Linked DNA regions of Homo sapiens: all the other regions are linked to region 1. Evidence: promoter capture Hi-C in 16 types of primary human blood cells and fetal thymus (Javierre and others, 2016). All regions are on one chromosome and are shown on one strand. Each heading gives the region's core, a stretch centred on a gene start or on the middle of the fragment in contact. The rest is flanking DNA. Distances are from core to core; before and after follow the strand shown. Region 1 holds the start of LRRK1 (leucine rich repeat kinase 1). Region 2 holds the start of CHSY1 (chondroitin sulfate synthase 1). Region 3 overlaps LINS1 (lines homolog 1). Region 4 overlaps ASB7 (ankyrin repeat and SOCS box containing 7).

What was found. Contacts are between HindIII fragments. The CHiCAGO score rates a contact against its expected background, and 5 or more counts as called.
Region 2: a fragment that was not itself captured here is called in contact with the fragment with the promoter of LRRK1 in region 1 in 4 of 17 cell types (naive B cells, total B cells, M2 macrophages and 1 more); the score reaches 8.8 in naive B cells.
Region 3: a contact is called between a fragment that was not itself captured here and the fragment with the promoter of LRRK1 in region 1, in 2 of 17 cell types (naive B cells and total B cells). The highest score is 6.3, in naive B cells.
Region 4: a fragment that was not itself captured here is called in contact with the fragment with the promoter of LRRK1 in region 1 in 3 of 17 cell types (endothelial precursors, M2 macrophages and M1 macrophages); the score reaches 7.5 in endothelial precursors.

The regions. Positions count from the first base shown.
Region 1 is chr15:100,916,348-100,923,380 of GRCh38, reverse strand. LRRK1 (leucine rich repeat kinase 1) reads right to left here and starts at 4,024. Exons shown (of 34, transcript NM_024652.6): 1 at 3,930-4,024. ALDH1A3-AS1 (ALDH1A3 antisense RNA 1) reads left to right here and starts at 4,098. Exons shown (of 2, transcript NR_135827.1): 1 at 4,098-4,577. ALDH1A3 (aldehyde dehydrogenase 1 family member A3) reads right to left here. Exons shown (of 13, transcript NM_000693.4): 13 at 6,755-7,033. RefSeq lists enhancers at 2,396-2,455, 2,982-3,573, 4,748-4,867, 4,918-5,007, 4,760-5,352 and silencers at 3,788-4,377, 5,138-5,357. The HindIII fragment of the contact is 4,524 bases long and covers 1,773-6,296 here.
Region 2 is chr15:101,246,351-101,253,383 of GRCh38, reverse strand. CHSY1 (chondroitin sulfate synthase 1) reads left to right here and starts at 1,336. Exons shown (of 3, transcript NM_014918.5): 1 at 1,336-2,247. The coding sequence starts at 1,928. RefSeq lists silencers at 872-1,251, 1,422-1,731, 1,922-2,351. The HindIII fragment of the contact is 999 bases long and covers 2,537-3,535 here.
Region 3 is chr15:100,592,706-100,599,738 of GRCh38, reverse strand. The region is part of intron 1 of LINS1 (lines homolog 1); the gene reads left to right. Among named protein-coding and RNA genes, the nearest start is that of LINS1, 6.0 kb to the left of the region's middle. The HindIII fragment of the contact is 2,419 bases long and covers 618-3,036 here.
Region 4 is chr15:100,644,015-100,651,047 of GRCh38, reverse strand. ASB7 (ankyrin repeat and SOCS box containing 7) reads right to left here. Exons shown (of 6, transcript NM_198243.3): 6 at 1-2,725. The coding sequence ends at 2,586. It also overlaps the pseudogene WDR12P2. Among named protein-coding and RNA genes, the nearest start is that of ASB7, 45 kb to the right of the region's middle. The HindIII fragment of the contact is 358 bases long and covers 4,057-4,414 here.

The sequences.
Region 1 (7,033 bases), core at 2,775-5,274:
TAAAAATAATGCCTAAGAGAATCTGTACAGGCAAAAGCATAGCGTGGACGTTAAAGGTGTGGACTGCCTGTGTCACATGTTCGCAGTGTGACTCCCAGCTGAAAGGTATGTGTGTCTCAGTTTTCACCTGTTAAAAATAGACATCCACCCTTATGCCCGGGCCTGCTAGTGGGGTTACTGTGTGAATTCAACCAAAGTGAAGTTTCTGCAGCCTCTCTCTACGACAGGGCTGGGGTGGTCATTACCTGTAGTACCAGCGCACAGACTTGGAGGCCAGCGGGTCTCCCACTTCCCTGCTAATTAATAAGATCAGAATATCAATGCTGGAGGGCAGATGCCAGCCTCACCAGCGGGTAGGTTCTAGAAGATGCCGTGAGCAGTAGGGGCACGAAGTAAGGTACAGGACAAGGCTGTGGGAATTTCTCACCTAAAAGCCTAGAACTCAGGCACCTGGCCCAGGTGGACTGGACTCGTCAAGGCAGGGAAAGGTGGAGCTAGAAAAGCCAGGCTCCAGCAGCCTTGTGCAAGCTGCACATGTTTCAGAGGCAAAAGGGATGGTCGACACAAACCACGTGTGGGAAACACCTGTGTTTGAAGTTGGGAAGCCTGAAAAGTCGAAGGAGGAAAGGAAAAACGATCAATCTGGGCAAAATTTAGGGGATGATGAAAGCCTTATAAATAGCAAAACCTGATTTGGAAAATCAACTTGTGACAGAGAGAGGAAGAGCCAGCAAGACAGAATCTGTTTTAAAATAAACGTTCCGATCACACATTCACATCCAGAAACTGAGAAGCACAGTTGCCATCTGCTTTCAGACACCTCTCCAAAACAGCTACCGCACATAACCAACAGCATTTCAAAAATCCAAACGCTAGACATTCTTCCTGAAAACAGAAGTGTCTTACCATACAATGTTTTTAAGTTCTAAAAAAAAAAAAATCTTAAAATTATTTCAGGCTAACCCTCACCCAGCACATTTTGTTCCCCTTTTCATTTTCAGTTTCCTTTTGAAAATCACTTTACCAGTGGAAGACTCTGCCCCTGGAGCAGTTTTAAAATTCTAGTTACTATTTTGGCTTATATTCTAAGGTAGAAGTTTTAAGATGAGGTAATTCAAATTTTGCTCAATCTTTGCCCTCAAACGGATCTTTGCTTCCTCCTGCTTCTTTTGGGTCCAGAGAGGTGCCAACAAGTGATGATTACAAGTTACATGTCTTCATTATACACCCTAAAGAGGGCATCAAGAGGTTTTCAGCAGTAATGATGGTTTAAATGATTTTTCAAAACCTCATCAATTTCCTTTTGCCAACTATTTATACCTGCATTAATGAATAAACCTAAACATTTAATGGAAAAGAAAATAGATGGGTGCGGTGGTTCACGCTTGTAATCCCAGCTCTTTGGGAGGCCGAGGAGAGTGGATCACTTGAGGTCAGGAGTTCGAGATCACCCTGGCCAATATGGTAAAAACCCATCTCTACTAAAATTACAAAAATTAGCTGGGCATGCTGGTGGGCGCCTGTAATCCCAGCTACTTGGGAGGCCGAGGCATGAGAATCACTTAAACTGGGGGAGGTGGAGGTTGCAGTGAGCCAAGATTGCACCACTGCACTCCAACCTGGGTGACAGAGCAAGACTCTAGAGAAAAGAAAAGAGAAGAACCTGTCATTCATTCTACAAATGTCTTATTGAGTTCTTTCTATGAAGAGGGAACTTCATGAGTTTGTGAAGCTGGTGGGGGAGCAGACAGCTAAGTAATTGCTATAAAGCTTCTGACAGCAGAGAAGCCCAGATATTTTAGGAGGCTTGGGAAGGACTGTCGATATCAGTTAGAAGTTAGAAGTCCCTTGCAAGCAAAGCATGCTAGACATGCTCATTCATATCACCTAGTTCCTTTTTGAAACAAAATCCTGGTCAAAATGGTTAGCCCATGATTCTAGAAATCTCTTGAGTGCTATTTGCATCCCTTACTAGCATTGGCTTTTGCCTATAAAATGTGTTTAATGGGTTTGGGGGCATCCAAATATCTTGGAGCTGCAGGCCAGAGAAATATGTTGTTCTCAATCCCAGATGAGCCCAAAAAGGGTGGAGGAGAGAAATGCTCCATGAGTCTGAAACCACAGGTAAGTTAGGGTTGTCCATTCCCCATCCAGTCACTCTACCACCATGCACGGGGTATCTCCCTGTACAGTTATGGGAATGAGGGCACAGCAATAAGCAAGACAGATCAGTCTCTGACCCCAAGAGCTCCAGTGGAGACCACAAGATAATTAAGGAGAAATTAAACAGATAAAGAAGGAGTACAGAATGGGGACTGCAGGGAGGCTGCAGAGTGAGGGATGTGAGAGGGAGCGTGGGTTTTCAGAGGGTGACCAGGGAAGACTTTCTGAGGCTGTGTGAAGAGTCAGGAGGCAGCAGTGCAGGGGACCAGTGCTGGACAGCAAGCTCAGCCAGTGTGGCCTGGGGCAATGGCCTGGTGGTCCGAGACAGCAGAGGCTGGATCAGCTGGGGGTGTGAGGAGAAGGAGGTCTCCTGGATTGCGTGCCAGTTGCAAGGAGAAGCTACTGAAGGACTCCATAAAGAGGACTGATATGGTCTGATTTACCCATTTAAACACACAGACACACACAGACGCACGCTGCTATATAGAGAATGGAGGAAGGGGGAACTGAAATCCTACAGTAAAGAGATGCTGGTACCCTGGACAAGGGGCAGGGTGGGGGGTGGGGGCATAAGAAAAAGGGGACAGATCAGGACACATTTTAGACATAGATTCAACAGACTGAATGTTTTTTATCTGAGGATCCGAGTTGACTGCGAGGTCACTGCCAGAGACATCGACTTTTGGGAGAGGGAAAGGTTTGGCTGACCGCAAAACCTCCTTTAGGAACAAATTAGGTGTGAGGTTAGTTTGTTATATTATTTTCTCTTTCAGGACATAGGCAAAGATGAAGAGAATCAAATCATAAAAGGCGTTTAATGTTAACATTTTCCAAAATTGTGCATGTTCTAGCTATCCCTTTAATGTCTGGGCATTTTGATACCCTGTGAGTGGCTGGCAAACTCTATCATTAGTGTACACGGTGAGAGGTTTGCTGAAAGCTATATGCCCCCGTTTCTCTACCTGTTGCAGGGGAAGTGTTCGTGGGAGAAAAACTTCGCGGCCTCATACTGTGAAGGGGTAGGTTGAGATGGCCACGGGGGTTCTCAGATTCTCCACCAGCGTCTCCTCGCTGACCCCGGCCTTCCTAGGCTTCCTTCCCGCGTCCCTGCCTGCCAGGAAGGTCCCCTGTAGCTTGCAGAGACCATGGTAGACAGAGCAGTTGTATCTGCGCCAGCCAGAGACCACCTGGGCAAGAAGCGTGACCCAGACATCGAGGAGGGTGAAGCCTCGCTGGGCCGCCCCGCAACCCCAGGAAGCCCCGGACCAGCGAGAGGCTCCCGGGCGGTCTCTTGCCGACACCCCGGCACGGGCTCACCCGCGCGCTCACACTCCGCCCGCTCCCCGCTAAGGGACTGGGTTCGCTCCAAAGGCAGAGGAAACCTATGGGCTCCCCGGCTCGTGTCTCCCGACTCGTGTCTCTTGCCTCCGCTTCCCAGCTTTCCCGACCCTGCCCGGACGGGGTTTCGGGGTTCCCTGCTCGGGCCCCGCGCGCTCCCCTCCCACAGGCTGGCTGGGCTCCGGGCGCGGCGGGAGGCAGCGGGGACGTGAGACCGGGGTCGCCCCACACGCCCTCCGCGCCCCTCGGGCCGCGGCCCCTGCGCAACGGCCCCCCGTGCCCGACCACGCGGCCGCCCGGAGCGCAGGGGCCCGCGGGCAGGCAGAGGCCGAGGCTCCCCGCGGGCGCCGGGCGCGGGCTCTGGGTTCCCCGGGCGGGGCCGGGAGGCAGCCAGGCCGCCGGGGGGCGCCGGCAGGAGCGGCGCTTACCTGAGGCGGCGGCGGGGCCGGGTGCGGGCGCTCCGGGACGCGGGGCCGGGCGGACACACTGGCGGGGCCGGGGCCTGGCCGTCCCACCGCCGTCTGCCCCCCGCGCCGGGGCCGGGCCCAGACGCACTTCCTCAATCCTGAGGCGGGCGGGCGGGGAGGGCGGCGCGAAGAGCGCGCAGAGCAAGGCCGCCGCCAGCTCTCCCAGGAACCGTCGCGAGGCGTCCCCTCGGCGGCCGCCTCAGTTTCCCTGGCCGTAAAACGCGGGCGATGGCGCTCGATGCCCCGGGAGACGCCGGGGTCCGCGGGCCCTTCCGGCACCGGGTCCTCCTTCAGGTTCGGGCACCCGGCTGCCTCCACGCGGGGCGAGCGCGGCGATGGGATCGGTCCGTGCTGCGCTCAGCCCCGCTTTCGCTATCCCTCTGCTCCAGGGGCAGCAAAATCAGCAGATGAGCCCCCAGCGCGCCTGCGGCCCACACACTGCGGCCGTAACAGTTAAACAGACGGGGAACATTCATGTGCGTAGAGCTCTTCACGGGGCGATACAGAAATGTGTCGTTCTAAAGCGTTAACGACCTGCAATTTGCATATCCTCCAACACATGGATTTTACTGATTCAATTATGGATGTGTGCAAAGAATCTGCTGCTCGGTGAGTCATTGTTAATTGTCGGCTTTGGGGGGAATACATAAAACGTGGAATATTGGCAATTTATCGTGTTTCGACCTTTTATAAAGGCGTCACCAGGCTGCTGAGGCTAATACAGAAACGCAGACCATAAAAAAGATCTGCGTCCACGCTGCAGGCGGGCCTCACGCTGAGCTCCCCGTGTCGACCCGGGGACAAAGCCTGCTCAGGAAGAGCAGAGGGTTCCACGCCCTGCAGGACCAGCGCCCTGGGCCCCTCTCCTGGAAAGTTATGACTCGCACGTTCCCAGGATTTAGCGCACATCTCCCCCACCCTCACTGCCATTTCACAGAACCGGGGCAGCCGCAGGGCTCCTGCAGGACCTCCCGGACGCCGCGGGGCCGTGTTCCCTTGAGCGGCTTCTTGGGTCCCTGGTTGGAGAGGGGACCACCGAGCAGCTTCGCTCTGCTCCTGGGAGGCTACTTCTGCCACTGGACGACTTTCCAAAAGGGTGAGCGCAGTTCTGCAATCCTGTTCTCACCCCTGAGGGCCTCACACCAGTTTGCAGGAGCCAGCAGTGTGATTGCCACCGACAAGTTCCCAACAATTTGCAGGGCGTGGTGTCCTCAGTGCTGAGAGAGCCCCGCGACGGCGGTGCAGCTCCTCCAGGGCGCGCAGCCCCGCCACCTGGCGCCACCGCGAGGGAGCGCAGGCCCAGGGCCCGGGCAGACGCTGGAGGGGACGCGGCAGGTGAAGATGGGGCACCTCCACTTCCCTTCTAAAGGAGCCTGGGAATAGGCTAGGAAATGTCCCCACTGTAGAAGACAGCAGGAACATCTGACACGCGGATAACCTGTGCTGAGCTCGTTATATTCCCAGCATTTAATTCTAGCCATTAGGCATGCGTTAGCCACAACTTCGCATAGGAAGGTTATTGCAGGTAAGTTAAGACTCCTTTCCACTTCTTCCTAAGGGTCGCTGACCCATGGTTCTCTAGCTTTTGCTGGTAATCCCACCCAGATTCTCAGCACCCTAGGTTGGAATGACCCCTCCTGAGGTGGGTGGGGTAGCTGGGAGGCACCTCCCTGAACTGACTTTTCTGCCTTTTTGAAGGTGCAGTGGCTGAGCGCTCCTTCAGTGTTTTCCGGTTGTCTTTCTTCAGCCCAGTACGCAGTTTCCTCAGACAGTCTTCCTTGAGCAACTTCCTAAACGCCCTTCATTATCCCCCTTCAAGCTCATGCCTAGGAGCAAGGAGCAAAGCCATTAGAAAGGCTTCATCCACCAGCAGGAGAAGCTAGGACATCCCAAAGGGTCCACTTCTAGAGAGGTGCCAACCCCCACACGCACACCAGGCACACAAATGCATGTGTGCACACGCATACCACACCCTCCAATTGTCCCCAGAATGGCTCCCTTCAGGGAGTCATGTTCCGGGACACCAAATGAGGGAAAATATCCTTCTCCTACAGTTTCCTGCTCACATTTGGATTGAGAAATGGGATGTCTCTAAATAATGTGTCTAAATTCTCTTAACATAAGTGCATATGTTACGAGAGATCTGATCCCAGCCTCCCTTTTTTGTTAAAGTGGTGGTGCTTTGCCACCCATGTCAAAATGATCTGGGCTTTCCACATCAAATGCAAGGGATGAGCTTGGAGGACATACCCCAGTACCAGCAATGATCTTGAGCCAATGGCAGCGTCAGCTCACAACGGGGTGATTGAGGCTTCTTGGTTAGAAGCTTTAGAAACTTGAGGTCAGTAAAACCCAAATTGATCCTTTCTCTAGATCCTCTAGATTTCTCTAGAGGAAAAGGTGACAAAAACAGACACTTGTGCTCACCGTCAGGGGCACAATGCTGTCCGTCAATCCTCATGCAGTCCTCCCCACCATTTCGCACACTGACACCATCACTACTTTATGATAAAAGGAGACTCAGGCAGCTTAGATAACAGCTGAAACTCAGCCAGCTATGACATGGAACCTCTGAGGCCCAGCTCCTTGCCTGGTCAACCCCCAAGCCCACAGAAATGGGTTTCACACTCAGGCAAAGCACTGGGCCCGACTGACTGAGCAAATGTAATTTTATGCTTACATTATTGATCCTGCTTTAATATCAGCCATTTCGTACAGGTCTCAGAAAGAGAAAGGCCTGCCATCGAATTCAAATGACTTTGGTCTTTAAATGAAAAAGCACAATGTTTCTCAAATATCCAATTTTATTTTATCATTCTCGCATTGTGGGATGCGATCTGCAGCTAGGATCGGAATTCCCAGGCCTATAGATTTTTAAACCACACCACAGGGGTAAACCTTAAAAGAAGTGAAACCTAACACTATATATATTTCCATTTCTAAATACAGTATATTACAGAAGTTTAAATATACCACCTCTGTGTACTTACAACTATAAAAAGATACAATAACTCTACCAATTATAAATAATGTAGCATTTCATATTAAAGACATTATCGTACAAT
Region 2 (7,033 bases), core at 1,787-4,286, 330 kb before region 1:
CATTTGTGGTTTATGGTCTTAGTGGAAACCTTTTTCGATGGTTTTCGAGCCTGTAATTCATGGTTGTATGTTCTGTATTTTTCCCAAGACCACTGCTGGAATCCTGTATTCACTGCATAATGAGTATTTTATTTTTAGATGTGGATCACCCCTTAGGGAGGGGCTCTGTGGGAAGGTAGGTAATGAACTATTTTTAATATAAATCACAAGTGTCAAAGAAAGTGGTAATATCCAAAGAATAAACAAGAGTGACCACCATTCAGGTGCCGAGAAGGTATCTGAAGCTCCCACAGGCATTTTAAACTGTGTGATAGTATTTCAACCATTTGGTCAACAATGAAGAAAGATCCAAGGATTGCCCCAGGCATGTGTTTATTTGATTCAATGCAGGTAACTTCTCAGGCCCAGGGAAACACTTTGCCCTTCAAAAGTTTCATTAGAAAACCCCAATATACTGGTGACTAAGTAACAAGACTGAAACTCTACACAAACTTTCGTTGTATGGAGACCTCCGCTTTTGCTGCCTTAGCTGAAGTATTGCAGAGGAAATGTATAAAACTTAAAATCCAGAGTAGAGGATCTGGGACCCAAAATCCGTCTTTAGAAATCCACGGCACTTTTACAGACGGACTATATTAAAGTAGGGACAAAGTCCCAGGCTGGGGGTACTAGCCGGCTATCTGCCCACACAGTATGTAAATGAAAGTAGGGTTTACCATCCAGGGCATTAACTTCATTTTCCTTGTCTTCGAGATCCATTAAATGCTAGTACTGTATGAGAAGCGTGGACCTTAAGTATTAAAGATGGCTTTTTCTTCTTCTTCTTCTTATTTAGCGTAGAAACTAGCAACAGGGAACAAGGTAACTGAATTCACGGTCCACTCGCAGGCGCGCACGTCCCCAGGGCTCCGGGACGGCTGTTCCCTGCGTGCGGCCGCGGGACTGCGGACAAAGCTGCAGTGTGGTCGGGAGCGCGGGGCCGGGAGCGCGGGGCCGGCCCGGCGGCAGGAAGGGCGTGGCCGTGGGGTGCAGCGAGGACGGCCCGTGCGGGAGGAACGTGCGCAGCGTGGAGTCTGGGGGCCGAGAAGCCCCCACTGCAAGGCTGGCTCCCGAGATTCGCGCCCGGGCGCCGCGGTGCGGGAAGCGGCCGTCCTCGCGGGGACGCCCTTGCGCCGGGTGCTAGGTGCGGATCACGGGCAGCTCCGGCCCCGCGGGCGCCGGGCGGGGGCCCACGCCCCCTCCGCCCGCCAGCTCCAGTCGCAGACCGCGCGGGCGGGGCGCCCGAGAGGGCTTTTTTTTTTTTTGGTCAAACTTCGGCCACGTGAACCGCCCCTCATTCACTTTTGCGCCAATCGCGCGGCGCGGACGGATCCCGAGAGGGGCCACGGCTCGCCGCCGGCGGGGCCACTTCATAACGCGCCGTGCGTGACGTGAGGGGCTCCTGTTGCAATGGCGAGCTAAGCCGGAGGATGTGCAGCTGCGGCGGCGGCGCCGGCTACGAAGAGGACGGGGACAGGCGCCGTGCGAACCGAGCCCAGCCAGCCGGAGGACGCGGGCAGGGCGGGACGGGAGCCCGGACTCGTCTGCCGCCGCCGTCGTCGCCGTCGTGCCGGCCCCGCGTCCCCGCGCGCGAGCGGGAGGAGCCGCCGCCACCTCGCGCCCGAGCCGCCGCTAGCGCGCGCCGGGCATGGTCCCCTCTTAAAGGCGCAGGCCGCGGCGGCGGGGGCGGGCGTGCGGAACAAAGCGCCGGCGCGGGGCCTGCGGGCGGCTCGGGGGCCGCGATGGGCGCGGCGGGCCCGCGGCGGCGGCGGCGCTGCCCGGGCCGGGCCTCGCGGCGCTAGGGCGGGCTGGCCTCCGCGGGCGGGGGCAGCGGGCTGAGGGCGCGCGGAGCCTGCGGCGGCGGCCCGGCGGGCGGAGCGGCGCGGGCATGGCCGCGCGCGGCCGGCGCGCCTGGCTCAGCGTGCTGCTCGGGCTCGTCCTGGGCTTCGTGCTGGCCTCGCGGCTCGTCCTGCCCCGGGCTTCCGAGCTGAAGCGAGCGGGCCCACGGCGCCGCGCCAGCCCCGAGGGCTGCCGGTCCGGGCAGGCGGCGGCTTCCCAGGCCGGCGGGGCGCGCGGCGATGCGCGCGGGGCGCAGCTCTGGCCGCCCGGCTCGGACCCAGATGGCGGCCCGCGCGACAGGAACTTTCTCTTCGTGGGAGTCATGACCGCCCAGAAATACCTGCAGACTCGGGCCGTGGCCGCCTACAGGTGAGCCCCTGCTCCCCGGGCACCGCCTCCTGCGTCCGGCATCCCGGCGGCCGGCATCCCGGGTGCTCTCCTGGCTCTCGCCTCCGCCCGCTTCCTAGGCCCTTCTTGGGCTTCCGGCGGGATCGGGTTGCCTCTCGGGAGACGCCGGGCCGAGGGAGAAAAGATCAGAGGCGGGATGGTGAGCGCGGCGCTCAGGAACATGGCCTTTGGGGTCAGATGGACTAGTGTGGCCTCGCTGGGTGTACCTCTCACCCTGATGAAGGCACTTTAGCCTTTGCAAATCGAAGCTTCTCGTTAGAAGGGCCCGACAGATCGGGTCTCCCTCATAATGTTGGAAAACTCATAGCACAGTACCTGATAGTGGAGGCAGTTGGGGCTGATACTGGATTCCCTAAAATGTGCACCTTTGTCCTTGCAAAGCTGGAGCCCGTGTACGTTAATCTAGTTCTAGAACCTTTCCACATCATACTCTCACATTTCGCAGTTGGAGGCACTCCTATAAATGAAAGAGAATGCCCGCAGCATATTGGACCACACCAGTCTGTTGAGTACAGAGAGAGAGAACCTTGGGGAAAAGCAGTTCTTGGCCCTTGGTAGATTCAGTGGAAAACTGCATTCTGGTGTTAATTAGTTCAGCTTGGTGGTGTATGCATGTTATCCAGTAACTGGGCTCTAGTTGGCCAAATGAGTCATAAAAGCAGCTGGAATTGTGTTCAGGTTTAACAAAGGGATTAGCCAATGTAGTCTCTAGAAGGGAGATGATTTTGGAATGGCTGGCATGGTTAGAATCAGATTTGTATTGGAGTGAATTTGAAGTTGGAGAGGGTTGTAGACTCGATAAAGGGATTTGATGGAAACCCTATATGTGTGAAGTATAGAGACACTTACTGTATGGATAAAGTTTGGGTCTTATCCAGCCACAGAGCAAACCAATGTGGGGAATGGTTTTAGAGCATCAGTTGTCTGGTAATGAAATTTCAGAGCAGCCAGTGCTGAGCCAGGCTAAGCTGGTTGCTGTTTGTTCTTATAACCAATACCTTTACACTTCAGTTTTTAAATGCAGTCTTGGTCAGATTTTTCAGGCACTAGATGTTGTGAGGGGAAAAGCATATATGGTCTCCCTTGCCTTTAAGGGAGAAAGTAAAGGACTGAGAAAGAAGGTGAAAGTGGTCTTCAGTGACTGCCCCTTGAATGGCTTGATCCCCATTCCTGCACATTTCCATTAGGGTCCTGCTTAAGTCCAGAACCCACATTCCGCCAGGAAGGGTCCTGAGTGGCTTGAAAAGCTTAGAATGCAGGTATTGTAAATACAGACTAATGCAGGCGGGGCGCCGTGGCTCACGCCTGTAATTCTAGCACTTTGGGAGGCCGAGGCGGGCGGATCGCCTGAGGTCAGGAGTTCGACACCAGCCTGACCAATATGGTGAAACCCCGTCTCTACTCAAGAGTACAAAAATTAGCCGGGTGTGGTGGCGTGCACCTGTAGTCCCAGCCACTCAGGAGGCTGAGGCAGGAGAATCGCTTGAACCCAGGAGGCGGAGGTTGCAATGAGCCAAGATCATGCCACTGCACTCCAGCCTGGGCTACAGAGTGAGACTCCATCTCAAAAAAAAAAAAAAAAAAAAATTCTATCTATCGATCGATAGATAGAGATACATAGACTAGTGCAGTGATTTGGGAACCAGCCTATCAGGATCTCTCCCAGATCTACCTTGCATTACCTGAGGTTTTATGGGATTTTTTTTTTTTTTTTGACCAGAGAAACAGCCGTATCGGAAATCGAGGATGAGCCATATAGATTATTTACAGCATGGTTTTGAAAGTAAATCCGCATGACTCTAGTGTGGTGATAGACCATGTGAAATCACAGTTTTGGGGACAGTTAACAAACCAGTTAGTACAAACAGTAAATTAGGTAACTCCCTTATCTCCCCCATGCCCCCTGAACCAAATACATTTTCATGGTTACGGTATCAATATATTCAAATCAGTGGGGGGCCTAATGCACCAGCAATACTCAGAAAATGTAATGCAGGCCGGGCGCGGTGGCTCACGCCTGTCATCCCAGCACTTTGGGAGGCCGAGGCGGGCGGATCATGAGGTCAGGAGATCAAGACCATCCTGGCTAACACGGTGAAACCCCATCTCTACTGAAAATGCAAAAAAAAAAAAAAAAAAAAAAATTAGCCAGGCTTGGTGGCAGGTGCCTGTAGTCCCAGCTACTCGGGAGGCTGAGGCAGGAGAATGGCGTAAACCCAGGAGGCAGAGGTTGCTGTGACCCGAGATTGCGTCACTGCGCTCCATCCTGGGGGGCAGAGCAAGACTCCGTCTCAAAAAAAAGAAAATAAGTAAAAGAAAATGTAATGCAAACTAGAACTACTGTTTCACACTTGGAGATGGTTTTCCAAACTCGAGCTTAACGCTCTTACTTTTGGCCTCCTTTCCACATCTCTTCCCTCATCTTTTTCTGGATGTAAGACTTAATCTCATTGTTTATTTATTATTTTTTTTTCAGGTGGTTAGGGGAAAGCAGAAACACAGTTTGCCCCCAGGCGGGGTTCTCCCTTTCTTTTGACACCTCTGCCTTTCTGAGAAAGGAAAACGCCTACCAGGAGATAGTGTCCAGCTAATGTCACTCCAGCTCTCTCACAGAAGTTTCCTTTTATCTCTCAGATCTTAAGAAGTCAGAGTGCATGGAGCCTGGAGGTGGACCTGCCCTGCCAGTTAGGGTCCTTTGCCTCTTGCCTGCCAACCCTGTGTTTAGACTGACTGCAGGAGTTGGCACAAGACGATTTTAGCCTTAAGGCTAAAAGTTAAGGAACTTTTGGGGAGGGCCTCAATTGGGATGGAGGTTATAGGGTATAACATATGATTCCAGTTTTACTGTGCTTTGCAGCCCAGACCAAAAGTCCACACTGAGCTCTTAAATTGGAAATTCCATGCACAGTTCAGTATAAAAGTAAGCTTGACTCTTCTAGCACAAGGTAGAACTCTAGTTTGGAAATCGATGTGCTGAGCTTTACATTTCTCCTGAAAGGTAAATTCATTCTTCATCTTATCGAAAACTGTAGTTTTGTTTTTTAAAAAAAACAAAAAAACAACTGTTGTTTGGCTTATAGATGAAGGAGATGCCAGCACTTTCAGTAAGATGATACTTTGGTGTAGAATACTGAAAATGTCAGAATTTAGGTGAAGGGACTAGTAGCTAGCAACCTCTTCATTCCAACAACTCTGAGATCCAGAAAGGGGCTAAAAAAGCTTTTGAAAATCCAAGGAGATATGCCCGTCCACACTAAAGGCACAGCACTTTGATGATAGAACATCTCCATCATTACACATTTTTACTTTCTAGACCTGCCATCTGCTTGAGGGATGGATGGGGGCCACCAAGATATAGCAGGGCAGTGACAGCTGATAGCAGACAAGAAACAGATTTTTCAAAGCAGGCGAGACAAAACTCAAAATGTAGCAGGTGAGAGACCAGCCAGGGCTGAGCTTTGGAGGCCCTGAGTGACACAGTAGCTGTGGAGTTAATAGGAGTGATCCTGATTCGTTACTTAGGATCCATTTCTTTGTAAAGCACATGCATGCATGGCCCCTCTGGCCCCCGACCCTGAGTCCTGGGGGACACTGCAGTACACGGCTTGCTGTCATGTTCTTTAGTCAGAGGGACGACACTAAAAAGAGGGTTTCTGCTAGTGATGGATGCTGTAGAGAAAATAGAACAGGGTTGGGGCAGGGCAAGTGTGTCCTCTCTGTGTTAGGTGATTAGGGAAGAGTTTGGAGAGAGTGCCATTTGGGCTGAGATTTGATCATGAAGAGCCAGTTGTGTGAATATCATTGATGAGCATGAGGGCCAAGGAAGCACCGGGAAGTCCCAAGGCAGGGACCGGCTTGGAAAGGAACACCAAGAAGGCCAGTAAAAGAAAGAAAGCCAAGAAGGCCAGTAAAAGAAGAGCCCCAAGAAGGGGCTCGCTAGTGTCCAGTCTTGTAAAGTTTCATTCTGAGTGAATTAGAAAGCCACTGGAGGGTTTATGCAGGAAAAGGAGGTGGGTAGCTGGGGTTCTGTAAGTTAACACATAAAATAATTTATTTTGACTCATCTGCAAGTGTGTGTTCTAGGTAATTTCGCTTTAAAATGGTACTGTGATTCCTCTGAAGTCATTTATTATGCAAATTAAGGACAGCTTGTCAGAACCTCTGGGTTTCTTGTGTCTTGCATTACTAGCTGCAATTCGTATTTTTCCCATATTTAAACATTTTCTTTTTAGTTATGTTCTGTGATATATGGAAGGGAAATGTTCATGTAGTTCAGTCTATGTCTTTCCCTTTCTGATTTTAGTTTTCTCTACCCCAGGTTCACAGTTACTGCCCTGGAGAGATTTTTAAAGGTAACGTTTCCTTCCTAATTCTAGAAAGGGTAGAAATCATCTCAACTTTATTTTTTCCCCAAATAGTATGTGGTCGCAGCACCATGTACCGTTGACTAAGTTCTCATTTCCCTACCAGTTTGAAATGCCATCTTCGTCATGCTCAGAATTCTTGGGTATGTTTCTGGACTTCATGTTTTGTTCCGTTGAACTTTCTGTCTGTTCTTGTGCCAGTACCACCCATTGAAATTATTGGAGGTTGAATAATATTTTAATATCCGGTGGACAAGTTCCCCTTTGTTATTCATCTGCTTCAAACATTTCTTGGCTACACTTACCTTTTCTTGCTGAGAGAGTTTCTGTGCTATTTAGATTTTTTTAATCAACGTTTTGATTAAAAAAAAAAAAAAGCCACA
Region 3 (7,033 bases), core at 578-3,077, 320 kb after region 1:
TTTTATAACATTTACTAATTATAGAGTCAAGAAGTTTTGAACTCCCAAAAAGAAGGAAAAAGAGGGAGAGAGAAATGAATAAATATGTAAATTGTTGTGGAGAACATATTCATTCTTATAGCAGACTCGGCACCCATGCAATTCATATGGTGTATTTGCTAAATGATAGTTAAGTAGAGAGATGGGGGCCTAAGAACTTGTTGGTGAAGAGCCTAGAAACAGAGTTGTCTCCTAATTCCTAGTTCTTTGTATTTCTGGCCATTTGTTTTTCATTAAAAATCCTGCCTTTGAGTTAAACAACCATTTTCAAATGATTGAAGTACATGATTATATCATAGCCAAGTAACATCATATTGTCAAAGTTTCACAGAATGTGCTACTAGGTAATTTTAAATTGCTTTATTGAATTGGTGCTATCAGATTTGCTAATTTTTATAACTTTTCAATGATGTAAAAGCAGTTTAGATTGCGGAATATTTATAACAAGTTAATATTGATTAGGTTTTAACAGATACACTTCATTTCCCATTAACTTAGTTAATAATATAAAACTCACAAAAATGGGAACATCTTACAACATATAAGTGAAATAATTTGGGATAAGTATTCATGAAGCTTGATTCATGAAACCCTGACTCAATCAGAATTGAGTTTATTTCTTGAGTAGAAAGAGACTTTGTCATTGGAAAAATGCCCCAGCACCACTGCAGCAATTCTGATTTAGCTGGTCTCTAGGGAGTCCAAGGCTCATGGGTTTTTCCTAATGTTCCAGTGATGTCAGTGTCAAGGTCAGATTCCAAGGTCAAGGACCACTGCCCAGGAGGCTGTGTCCTGGCCCATAAAGCACTTGGTGGTGGAGAGAATGAGCAGGTTATGCTCTAGTTGGCAGCAGGCAGTGTTCTGGGCCAGCAGGTTGTGTCTGGGGATCTTGGTGTAATAAAGAGGGCCACCATAAAGACAGATGCAGCACAGTTTGGAGCCCATCATTTGCCTTGTTAGCCCAACTTAGTTCAGCTGTACCTGGCAGAAAAGGCGATGGGGCTGGGTAGAGAAATTGTATTTCAGACCTTGGTCATCACAGCAAAAAGAACGCCGAAAGAAAGGAAGCTAACTGGAGGCTTTTGAGTTCCTTATAGTTCTTGCCCTGGTAATTTAAGGGATTTTGGTCTTCTATGGTATTCTACCACAGCCATTTTAAGATGGTGCTTCAGTGTGTGTTGCTTCTGTCAAGTACGTTGTCAGATGTGTCATACGGTAAAGACTGAATGAGCTCAGAACTTAATCCCTGCTATGGATACTACTGTTTATAATTCTTTGATACTACATTTTTATTATAATTTAAAATTCACAACTTAAAATATTACATGGTGTTTTTAAAGTTTTTTGAGATCAAAACGGTACTAAAATATACTTTGGGACTGATTTTAGGATTGTTACATATACACTACTAAATTAATCTTCAGCCAGGAATGTATTCCACAAATATAAGTACCTACTGTGTATCAAATGCTGTGCTAGGAGCTAGGGAAGAACCAAGCAGACAACTCTAAATCATAAAAATCATTGCACAAATCGTTAAAGTATAATTGTGACACATTCTGTAAGACAGGGCACCAGAGCTGGAAGACAGTATCACCGGAGGACCTACCCCTGCCAAAGAAAGTCATATTTAAGCCTAAAACAAAAGGGAAAGTGGGTGGAAGGAGAAGCATTGTATCAAGGCCCAGAGGCTGGAAGGAACCTTTCAAGGTTAATAAATAAAGACATATTGACATCTTCCTACTTGAGTTATACAGGTGTTTTCACATATAAGCCATTTAATTTTTGCAAATCTTTGAGTATGCTACTTGGCTGAGGTAGGTAGATAATCTCGTTTTATCAATTGAAAAATCAGATCTTGTCTGTGTACAGAATTTAGGAGTTCAGTAAAATCTAGACAGTATCACATCTATAGACAGTTCCTCAACGCTACCCTGCCACTGGTGGCGGGTTTGTGGGGGCAGATGGAAAAGGGACAAGGCATAGACTGGAAAAGGGGAAGACTAAGGAAAACCTTTCAGTGAAATATTTCATTCTGAAGTACCACTTAAAACATACAGTTATAATTTAGCAACTAAGTATAGAAAAGTATTCATATTGATACACTGGATAATTTCCATTTATTTTAAAAATGCTTAGCATTAGCATATAAAAACCTAAGGAGCTGAGATTCCTCATCAATAAATCAAGTAGATTGTGCAGTGGTTCTCAAAATGTAGTCCCTGGTTCAATTCTTGGGCCCTCCCAGACCCACTAAATCAGAATCTCCAAAGTGGGCCCAGCCATTTGTGTTCTAATAAGCCTTCCAGGTAATTCTGATGCTACGGTTTGAGAATTATCTCTAAATTATCTCTTGAGATTTTTTCTAGTATGAACACGTTATGATTCTAATGTCCAGCATTAATTTGTGCTATGTTTAAAAAAAAAAAAAAAGATTTGCCTTTGGAGTGGTCACATAATAGAGCTACTTGAGAAAGATACTGTTGCCAGTAGGCCAGGTCAGGTTCTTCGCTTCTCTGCACAAAAGAATTTGAAAGGGAGACCACAGTGAAAATGTAGAAGGTTTGTTGCAGAGTGAAAGCAAGTGCACACTCAAAAGAGGAGCCTGGATGTGCTCAAAAGAGGCGTGTAATGTGGTCAGGGCTCGCTACGCAGACAGGCATGATGAAGGCACAAATATTCTATGATGAAAGGAGAGGGTTTCCAGGAAATGGGTGGGCAGTTCCCAGAATCAGGGCGCCACCCTTTTCTTGACTAAATGTGGTTAATCTGGAACTGCCATAGCTTCAGGTACGTGGCAGGGAGTGGGCGGTTTCCCCAGGGAAGTTTTATGGTAATGGGGCATAATGCAGCCAAGAGTATGCATTCAGTCAAGTTTTTGGCCATCTTGGATTTAACCAATTGCAGCAGGCTTCCTCTGTTACATTCTTATCTGTGCCTGGTCCCCAGGTAGCCCTTTCCCATTGGCACAGCTGCCGGCATTCACCTATGCAAGCTTTTACTTGTGTATCTATGCTTGCAGCTTGATTTTTCAGGCCGCTTTTTGTTAGAAAAGAAATGATTTGGGGGCTGCTTTTTATTAAAAGGGAAACCTTGCCGAGGACTCTCTTACCCTCACTATCTGTCTAAATAATTTCTAGCTCCTGTATCATCAGGCTGTTACCAGTATATCACTTTGACAGAAAAATGCATTTAAGCATTAAGTCTTTTATCTATAACTTGATTGCCAGGCTTTTCCTTCATGCCAAAAAAATCTGGCCTGTTTCAGAGTCCTAAGACAAGAGTTTAATAGGAAGACAATTTACAAACACGTGACAGAGTTTGTATTCTCACTATCTCAGAAGTAACCTGGAAACTTGTTAGAAATACAAATTACTGGGCCCCACCCCAGAACTATCTTATGGGAAGCTCCTAGGATAGGGCCCTGCAGTCTGCTTTCATAAACCTGTCTAGTGCATGACACAGTTTGAGTACTATTGTTTTGAGGAAAAGGAAGGATGGTGTAGCACTCCAAGGCCAGTAACCGCCAGCACCCCCTTTAGCCCTGAAGGTAAAGAGAGCTGGCAGTTCCTGGAGCTTGAAAGTCCAGCCTGCCTTCCGCCCCTCCCACTCCAAATCTCCTGGAGTCTGTTGGGGCACAGAGGAGAGTGAAGAATGGAACTAAAGGGAAGATACTGGCACATGGCATGCTGTCGGAAGATATCTGCCCCACTTCTTTTAATAGGGGAGGGAGGTGCTCTTGTCTAACCAGACCCATTTTATTTTTTCTGTGAAAAGTGCAGTTTCGATTGGTGGAGGGAACCAGAATCCTGGAAGACAGCCTGGGTTTGGAGGCCTCAACTTCCGCGACAGTTGTCACTGCATCTTCATTAATGGAGCAAAATAGATTAAGTAGCCTCTTGGGCTGTGGTCAGATTTGAACCAACTGTTGTTGAATTAGGGGAAGGCCTACTATTGACTTTCCCAGTCTATTAGTCTATGTAGTAGCCACATCATATAAAGAAACTAGTAATTTTTTTTACTTCTAATATTGACCATGAAAATAGATTATTTTTGTATTCTGAATTCAAACATAGACATATCTTTTTAAAGATAACCACAAATTGTTTTCCAAAGAGGATGTGCCGTTTTTCATTCTCACCAGCAGTGTAGGAGAGATCTAGTTTCTCAGCATCCTCCCCAGCATTTGGAGTCATTTTTAGCTCTTCTAGTAGTGGTAGTTCACTGTAGTGTTAATTCATATTTCTGTAATGGCTAATATGGTTAAGCATCTTTCTGTGGGATTATTTGCCATCTTTATATCCTCTTTGGTGAAATGTCTGTGCATGTCTGATCCATTTTGTAATTGAATTTTTTTTTTTAATGTTGAGTTTTGGGAGTTCTTTATATATTCTAGGTACTAGTCATGTGCTTTGCAGATATTTTTCTTTAAGTCTGTAGCTTGTCTTCTCATCTTCTTAGGGTTTTTTTGCAGAGCAAGTTTTAAATTTTGCTGAGTTCCGGTTTATCAGTTTTTACATTTGTGGATCATGCTTTTATGGTCAAGTCTGAGAACCCTTTGACTAGCCTCAGATGCCTAAGATTTTTCCTACATTTTTTTTCTAAAAGTTTAAAGTTTACAGCCATGACCCATTTAGGGTTGACTTTTGTAAAAGGTTGGAGTTATTTTAGAGAAAGTAAAATCAAGGTCATAGTAACCCTTATTCACAGTGCCTTTAATGTGGATGAACTGTTGATGCCCGAGGAGGAACAGTGGATTGTTGATTTTTCATGAGGAGCTTGCCGGGTTTGGTATAGCCACTAAAAGTATAGTCAGCCCTCCATATCCACGGATTCCATTCCAGTAGGTTCTGCTCCCCTGGATTCAACCAACCCCAGATCAAAAATATTTAGGGAATTGGGGAAAAATTTTGGCTACAGGATGGGGTGCTGGCTGCCAGGGGGAACCAGCCCTATGCTCAGAGTTGGCACTGAACATGTATGGATTTTTTCTTCTTGTCATTATTTTCTAAACCATACAGTGTAACAAATATTTACATAGCATTTACAATGTACCGTGTCAAATATTTTAAGTAATCTTGAGATCATTTAAAATACCTAGGAGGATGTGTGTAGATTATATGCAAATACCACACCATTTTATATATGGGACTTGGGCATCTGTAGATTTTGGTATCCTTAGAGAGTCCTGGAACAAATCTCCCACGGATCCTGAGGGATAACTGCCCTTTGTTTTGTTCAGAAACTCACAATTCCAGAAAACCGTGTCACTGACAGCAGCACTGCCAACAACATTTGATCCCACAAGATTCGTGATCATTAACCAAAATCAAAGACCCCTGAAGGTCTGATTACCATGCTGGCCTGTTGATTCTGGGGCTTAAATGGAACTATAGTCGGCCCTCTGGATCCACGGGTTCCACATCCACAGATTCAACCAACCTCAGATAAAAAAATATTCAGAAAAAATAAAAAATAACAATACAATAATAAAAATAATACAAATCAAAACAATACAGTGTAACAACTATTTACACATCACTTACATTGTGTTAGGTATTATAAGTAATCTAGAGATGATTTAAAGTATATGGCAGGATGTGCACAGTTTATATGCAAATATTATGCCATTTTTTGCCAGGGAGTTGAGCATCCATGGATTTTGGTATCCTTGGTGGGTTTTGGAACCAATCCCCCACAGATACCGAGGGGTGACTATACAATTTTAAAAACTCAGTCAAATCGCTATCCTGATTAACATTTCAACCTGTAGTTGCTGAGTATCTTTTGAAAAAATTAATCTTAGTTTATATTGGGAAATTGCATAGTAATTGACCTTGATTTTAGATCTCGCGTAGCATGTGAAAATGTTTCTGAGCACTATTGTTTTACAGTGTGAACAGTTAAGCTGTAGGAGTTACTATTTAATTTGAAGTCCAATGTTGAACTCTTGTCCTGGGCTTTTGGAGCACCAATGGAAGTTTGAAGAGTGCTTTGGTGGAGTGGTGAAGGACACAGGCTCTGATATTAGATTTTCTGGCTTCACATCCTGACTCTGTCCCTGAAGCTCTGTGACATAACATCTCTCTTAGTTTTCTTATCTGTAAAATGGGTATGATAATTAAGCACCCCCCCCCCCCATAAAGTTGTAAAACTCACTTAGAGCAGTATCTGGTACATAGTAGGTACTCAATAAAGTTTAACGATTCGTATTCCTAACACAGCAATTTTATGTGAAGATGGGTGGGAAGTATGTTATTTTATATTAATAAACACATGGTTTTATTAGGCATATAATGCAAAATTCAAATAGTTTACAGAACTTAAAAAATAAACAGAGGCTTCAGATAGATTTTATACTTAATATGGGTAACCCTTAGGCCACTTGGTGTGGGATTTCAGCTCCTCTGCCAAGAGAAAACACTAAGAGAATCACTGCTCCTTCACTTACCTAGTAAGACTGCCCCAATTGTTTGTTTCCAGGCTAGAGAAATCGTTCATTTATCATATAGATGGCCTCAGAGCCTGTCAGCATCCTGTGCACCCTCCGTCAGACACTTGGGTTTGTTGGTGTCTCTTAAAAGCTTGTTGTCTGAAGAGTACACATTCCCCCAGGCCAGCATGATAATGCAGAATGAGATGTGCAAACCTCAGAGCATCCACTTCAGAAAAAATTGTGGTCAGTTAAATCCCCTAGTTTGTTTTCTTAAGGATTTGTCCTTTCCTTTAATACCACAATTGCTTTAAAAAACACATACAAACTACAGTTTTCAATTCCAATGGGCTACCCACGGACATTTATTTTAAAGACAGTGTAATTAAGAGGAGTTTATACTTGATCACAATAAAACAGCCTAGCACCTATTGTCGTCATTCATTCATTAGCTGCCTGGCCCCTTGGCATTTGTGACCTGTATTACTAAGATGAATATTTTTTGATTTCCATCTAAGATTACAGGCCCATCTCCTTTAAGCCTATTACTTCCTATGGGAC
Region 4 (7,033 bases), core at 2,986-5,485, 270 kb after region 1:
AATCTGACAAATTTGAAAATATTCTGAACATTTTCTGTTCTGTTTCTGGAAAAAACAATCGGTTGATTTTTCTGAAAATATCTGTTCTCCCTATTCATTATGTGACCATGGAATGCTTCTCTGTGAATCCAATTCAAATGCAGACCTGCAGGTGTCACCACTATCATCTACCAGTAACCCACCTGGAGACATTTTAGTTATTGTGAAATGTGATTGGGATTTTATTAACAACAAAAATAAAACATTCTTTTTAAGCTTCCAGATAAATCAAACCTCAAACAATAAATAATGGAATTATACACTTCTTCATTAAATAGAAATTTCAAAATTCCAGGAAGAGCTCTCATAATTTTTTTTTTCTGAAGTCACAGCAGCAATACAGAACAAAGAATTTACCTTAATCTGATCTTTTTACGTGGAATTCCCTGACTCAAACTCAGTGGCTTAGTTTGGAAACCTCTGAATGGCTGGGGAGAGAAAATCTTTTGAAACTAAGTGAATAAATTAACACACACATACGTGGAAATCAGCCCTTGTGCAAGTGTAACATGAACATCACTGATGAGAGTGCAGAAACTCCAGGCACCCCTCTGCCTCCTCCTATCCCTGGGCCTGGGGTTGTAGGGAGAAGTCACACTCAATTCATTTCTAGCCACACCATGTCCCTAACAGTGCTAGTGTGAACTAGCCCTGACCTGGGTATTGGTTTAAAGAATGAGAATACAGCTTGGCAACTGTCTTCATAAGGGACTCTCTCTGGAGATAACTTTTTGGAACATTTTTATGGGGAAGAGGACAGACTACCCGTTCCTATCCATCAGGCTCCAGCTAGTTTGGGGATGGTTATAGAACTGGCCACACTCAGAGTGGCTGCCTGCGAAAGAGTCTATGCCAAAGAGTCTATGGGCCACACCAGCAATCTCCCGAATAATCCTCTTCTCTGAAGCTGCCCGTCTTCGGAAACCTGTGCAATGCTTAGGCACAAGCAGATCAGAGTCTAAGAGCAAACGCTGTGCTTGAGAAAACAGCACTGCTGGCTCTGAAAAAGGTGAAGCCAGAGAAAACTCCTAGTTCTGCTTAGTTACACTTCTGGGTGAAACAGTTTTACACTTCATGACTTAAATCTAGAAATTCAGACGAGAGAAGCCCTTCGTCTTGTAAACTTCTGATAACAAATTTATTAACAGTGTGTTAAATATTTTTTCCCAAAGCACTAAGAACGATACTGGGACATTTGAAAAGGTTCTTCTGAAGTTAATAACACAAATCAAGCCAGAATACGTTTCTGAGGGCATCCTCTTAGATGCCTAATGCCTCTGGGACCTTTTCCATTGTTACTGACACTTTATCATATCCGTGTTTACACGGCAAACATATGCCCAATCAACCCAGAAAATAATTGTCCTGAAGAGCCTCACTGTATATAACCTTAAAATGGGAAATGTTTAATTAGCATATTAGAAATTAGCCAGACTTATAAATGTGTACCCCTTAAAGATTTTACGCTTAAAAAGTTTTTTTTTTAAACTGGGAAGAAAAGAAACACCATGAAGCCACCCCAAATTATTGAACCATTAAAGCCAAATGATTTAACAATTTTTAAGGGAAGACTCGACCACCAGGGTACAAAATTTTCTGCTTAAAGTGAAGTCAAAGACATAGCTTCAGATGGAAATTGCAACTGACATACGATGGCTCTGCAGTGACAACTGAAGCGGCGGCTCCTGTCCTCACGGGCATGTCAAAGCTGGCTGTGAAATGACGACCAGCAAGTGAAATAATGGATAAAATACACCAGAAGGAGTATTGCACTGCAGGCACAGTTTTAAAAACAGAATACACTGGCTTCACAAAGTTATTTTCTTTCCCGTTAATTTTTTTAAAAGTACAACTCTAACTAGAGATAGAAATCGAGATGCAGTGTCTCAGGGTAGTGTACTACAGTTGTTAAAAAAAAAATAAGTTAAAAACAAGAGCACAGCAAAAGAAAAGCAGAGGTACTGGATTTATGTCATAAGCAGAGATACTGGATTTATGTCATCCGAAAGCTACATTAATTAGGAAAAAGAACAGTTTGAAACGGCCAGTTTGTACTCATTAAAAATGAATGAGGTGACAGCGTTACTTCAAACATTTCTTAGGGCATTTTCCAAAAGAACCCAGGGTCGCCCTGGGTGAAACTGTGCCTCCAAACGTTAACAAGTGCTCTGCTGGTTTAGAATACCGTGCTTACCAAGGAACCATAAATTTGGAAAGGGTAAATTCTCCACTCTAAACCTGCTTGTGTCATTTAAGAAAAGACAATTTTTCTAAATGCAGTATTGTATACAAAGCTTGGACCTCTTAAACTTGGACCAAGAAACCAAATTAAGACCTTCAAGCATGTGGTGTGTGTTTTTATATATATATAAAAAATCCCTCCCCTACAATGAAAACCAACCAAACAAACAGAAAACCCAAAAGTGTATACCTGCTTTCTGATTTCACAGCAAATCAGAAATTGCATAGGATATACTTTGTGCAAGGCAAAAAGCCTTTTAAGTATCTAGAATAGAACTCCTAATCTTGCTCACAGTTCTGGCATATCAGATATCATCAAATTTGTGTTTTAAGTAGTCTTTCATGACCTTGGCAATTGGTAGTTCATCAAGTAGCTTTAGGTTTTGAAGGCCTATACATTGTCGAATTTTAATTCGGCACAGGTCCTGCAAGTTTCTGGGCTGTCCTAAAAAGACAGAAAAAAGAAAATGTTACAAAGCCACAAAGCACAATATTTAAGGCACTTTTGAAAAGAACTGTTCATTTCCCTGGAAGTTCTCTCTATGGACTTGACATGCAAAGGACCGGAAAGATACCAACTCAAAGTGTCCTAGGACCTTCATGCGATGCCTTATTTGATCCTTTTCACAACCGTGGGATGGTGGATATTTTCAACTCCATTTTACCAATAAGAAAACTGAGTATCAGATGTAAACAAGTTGCTTAATATCAGACAACCAATTAAGGCTTTCAACTGAGACCAAAAACAGTTTTGATTCTAAGCCTCATATCCTTTCTGTTATAAATCAGGAAAATTCTGGTTCTCGTCCTGACTAGGTCTCTCTCACGCTGGGTGAGCCACTGTGAGCCAATCATTCCTCTGAGCCTTGGCTTCTCAATCTGAAAAGTGTGGGGACTGAAAGAGATGTCCCCTATTGTGAGCCTCCCTTTCAGCTCTGGGTCTAGGACACTGGAGCCCGGACACCCACCACGGTCTCTGTGGAGCTTTCCAAACAAGCTTTCCAGATCTGCTCACCTGTTTTCCGTGATTCTGAACACAGCAGAACCTTGGTTGTAAGGCTGACAGTTGAGGAGTGCAGCAGAAGGGGGTGTGAAAAAGCGCCTCAAGGTATTCTGAATCTACATCGCTTCAAGCTTCCACACCCTGATCACTTGCCAATAAAAACCCGTTATATCTCAATTCAAAAGAAAAATCACAAAATCCTATTTCTTTCCCTTTGGAATATTTTGTTTTACAAAAACAATACAGATGGCTCCAAAAACAAGGAAGAATTCTTCAACTGTGCTTCAGTAGTGTTTGGAGTCAAGGAAGTTTTGCTTTCATATTAAACATGATAATAAAGCTAATATATATTGAATACTTACTCTGCGCCATGTATTGTTAAGAGCTCATGACATGTATTAACTCCTTTCATCCTTTTACGAGGGAAGTACTTTGATCATCATCCCCATTTTATAGAGTCTCAGAGAGATTAAGTAACATGCTTAAAGTCAAGTTGAATGCCATTTTTCAGTCATTCTCAAACTTTTTGTTTTCAAAACTCCTTTACACTTTAAAAAATTATTGCGAACCCCCAGAAACTTTTATGTGGGCTATCTCTATAGTAAATGCCATATTATAAGTTAAAACAGACATTTTAGAAATACTTTTAAATTCATTCTAATAAACCATTACATGTTAACATAAATAACACATCATTATGAAAAGTAACTATATTTTCCAAAACCAAAAAAAAATTTAACAAGAACGTCATTCTTTCACATTTTTGCAAAGCTTTTAATGTATGGTTTAATAGATGATAGCTGAATTTTCATATATGCTTCTGAATTCAATCTGTTGAGATAAGTCACATCAATCACACCACCTCGTCTCTGGAAAAAACTGACACTCATGATAAAAGGAATGAGAGAAAGGCAAATCATGTCTCAGTGTTATTATGAAAATCAGGAGGAGACCCATGGAGAGAAAACAGAGTCCGGGATTACACCGCAACTTCTCGCTTACCTGTGCAGTGTAATTTTGAGCTGTCTCTTTGTAGTCCTAAGAGACAGGAGCTCCCGTTCTCAGCCTACTAACCCATAACTGTGGGCAAGTCGTGTACACTCCCTGACATGGCTCAGCTGCAAACAAGCTTCTACACTGATCACAAGAAATAGGCCATCAATGATGTTGCCTTCTCAATCCCTGCTGTCTCTTAAAGTGTTGACCTTAGTAACATCATCAATTAATTACTAAAGGGCAGAAATGAGTTCCACAAATATGTGGAGTTTGATTTCCTTATTAAGGGTCAGTTTCTGTGAATGCCCTTGGTCAAACACATGGAACGGGAGAACACCTCCTTAAAAGAAGTTGTGGAAAGAGAATACGCGGAGAAGTACACCGCACCCCAACCAGAATGAAGTGTCCTTGATGAGTGGACCAGTTCAATTCAAGGGACAGAGGTATGGATCTTGACTGGTTCTTATGATGAGACTTCTCGAATCTGGTCCTTGGAAGGAAAGTCAACATTGACAATTGTGGGACACATGGATATTGTTAACAGATGTGGCCTGGGTGACAAAAGACAGTTTGTGTTACTATTGAGTGGCTCTATGGATCAGACTATTCTCTTATGGGAGTGGAATGTCCAGAGAAACAAAGTGAAAACCCTATGCTGCTGCCCAAGTGTAGATTCCACAGCTATTGATAGCTCAGGAACTAAATTTTGCAGTGGCTCCTGAGATAAGATGCTAAGGATCTGGTCTACTGTCCCTACAGAAGAAGATGAAATGGAGGAATCCACAAACTGACCAAGAAAGAAACAGAAAACAGAGCAGTTGGGACTAACAAGGACTCCCATAGTGACCTTCTCTGGCCACAAGGAAGCAATCTCCTCAGTGCTGTGGTCAGATGCTGAAGAAATCTGCAGCGTATCTTGGGACCATGAAATTAGCGTGTGGGATGTCGCGTTTGGCAATCTTAAGTCAACTTTACAGGAAATAAAGTGTTTAATTGTATTTCCTATTCTCCACTTTGTAAATGTTTAGCATCTGGAAGCACAGATAGGCATATCAGACTGTGGGATCCCCAAACTAAAGATGGTTCTTTCGTGTTGCCGTCCCTAACCTCACATACAGGTTGGGAGACATCAGTAAAACGGTCTCCTACCCATGAACCACAGCAGATTTCAGGATCCTTATATAACACCGTCAAGCTGTGGGATTCAAGAAGTTGTAAGGCTCCTCTCTATGATGTGGCTGCTCATGAAGAGAAAGTTCTGAGAGCAGACTAGACAGACACAGGGCTCCTTCCGAGTGGAGGAGCAGATAATAAACTGTATTCCTACAGATATTCCGGGGGGCATGAACTCGAATGATAATTTGATTATAGAGATTCTTTCTATAAATGAAAATTGGTAGAGAATCATGAAATTACATTGATGCAGATGCAGAAAGCAGCCTTTTGAAGTTTATATAAAGTTTTCACCCTTCATAACACCTAACATATCACTGTCTTTTCTTATTTTGTATTTATAATACAAAAGTTCGTGTTTATAAAACAGAAACTGTGGCTTGCATTCTCTATTTAAAAAAGAAAAAAAGGGAAGAAATCATTTTGACCTCACAGTTACCCTAAAAGGGTCTTGGGGACTCCAGGGCCCACTAGACCATACTTGGAAAACTATTCTTGTACTTTATCCCTCATATCCATTGTACTTGCTTACAGTGATCACCGTTATTCAAAAGGAAGTACTTCTTCATAAATGACAAAGGCTGACTTAGACCTCTGCTCTGTAAGGCCTGTATGAACATACGCTTTTCGAGAGGTTACTTGCTATGTGGTCTCTTAACAGAATGGCAGCAGAAGTGACAGCTTTCTTGGAAATGTCTGTAAACTAGGAGTATGTGTATCCACAGATGTCTGTACATGGATCTGTACAGGGATGTGACACACACACACTCATGTGCCTCTTGGGAAGATTATGTCTCCTCCACCTTTCAGATCTCTGCCAAAATAGCACTTCATCACAGGAGACTATGTCAGGATTCACCATCAGATACTCCCAGAGTTCCTCTCCTTTATAACATTTAATAAGGTTGTGAGTTCACATTTATTTGGTGATTACGTGTTAATTAATGCCCATCTTCCTCACTATATGACATGCTCCATGAGGGGAGGACCATGTCTGGCCCCATTTGCCAATGTAAACCCAACTGCTGACACGGTACTCGGCGAATATGAGTTGAATGAATGCTTAATAGGCTTGTCCTTAAAGTATAAAACAGTCAACGTGCTGCAAAACACACTCAGGTCAACAGCAAATCATTTCCAAGCCTGTTTTGAATTATTTTTCAACACTATTCATGGGCTACTTTAGGAAAAGAATAAATTATCATTGTCATTTTTCAGTAAATGCTTACAGTATTTGATCTGCAAATGCAAACTGGAATGTGAATTACATGTGAATCTTCTTTCTTTAAAGAATTTGATTTTCCTAATAGATGACGGGCTCTTTTTAAGTATTATTTACTTATTTATTGCAATGCAGTCTCACTGTATTGCCCAGGCTGGAGTGCAGTGGTGCAATCTCAATTCACTGCAACCTCCATCTCCCAAGTTCAAGCTATTCTCATGCCTCAGCCTCCCGAGTAGCTGGGATTATAGGCGTGTGCCACCACGCCCAGCTAACTTTTGTATTTTTAGTAGAGATGGGGTCTCACCATGTTGGTCAGGCTGGTCTCAAACTCCTGGCCTCAGGTGATCCAGCTGCCT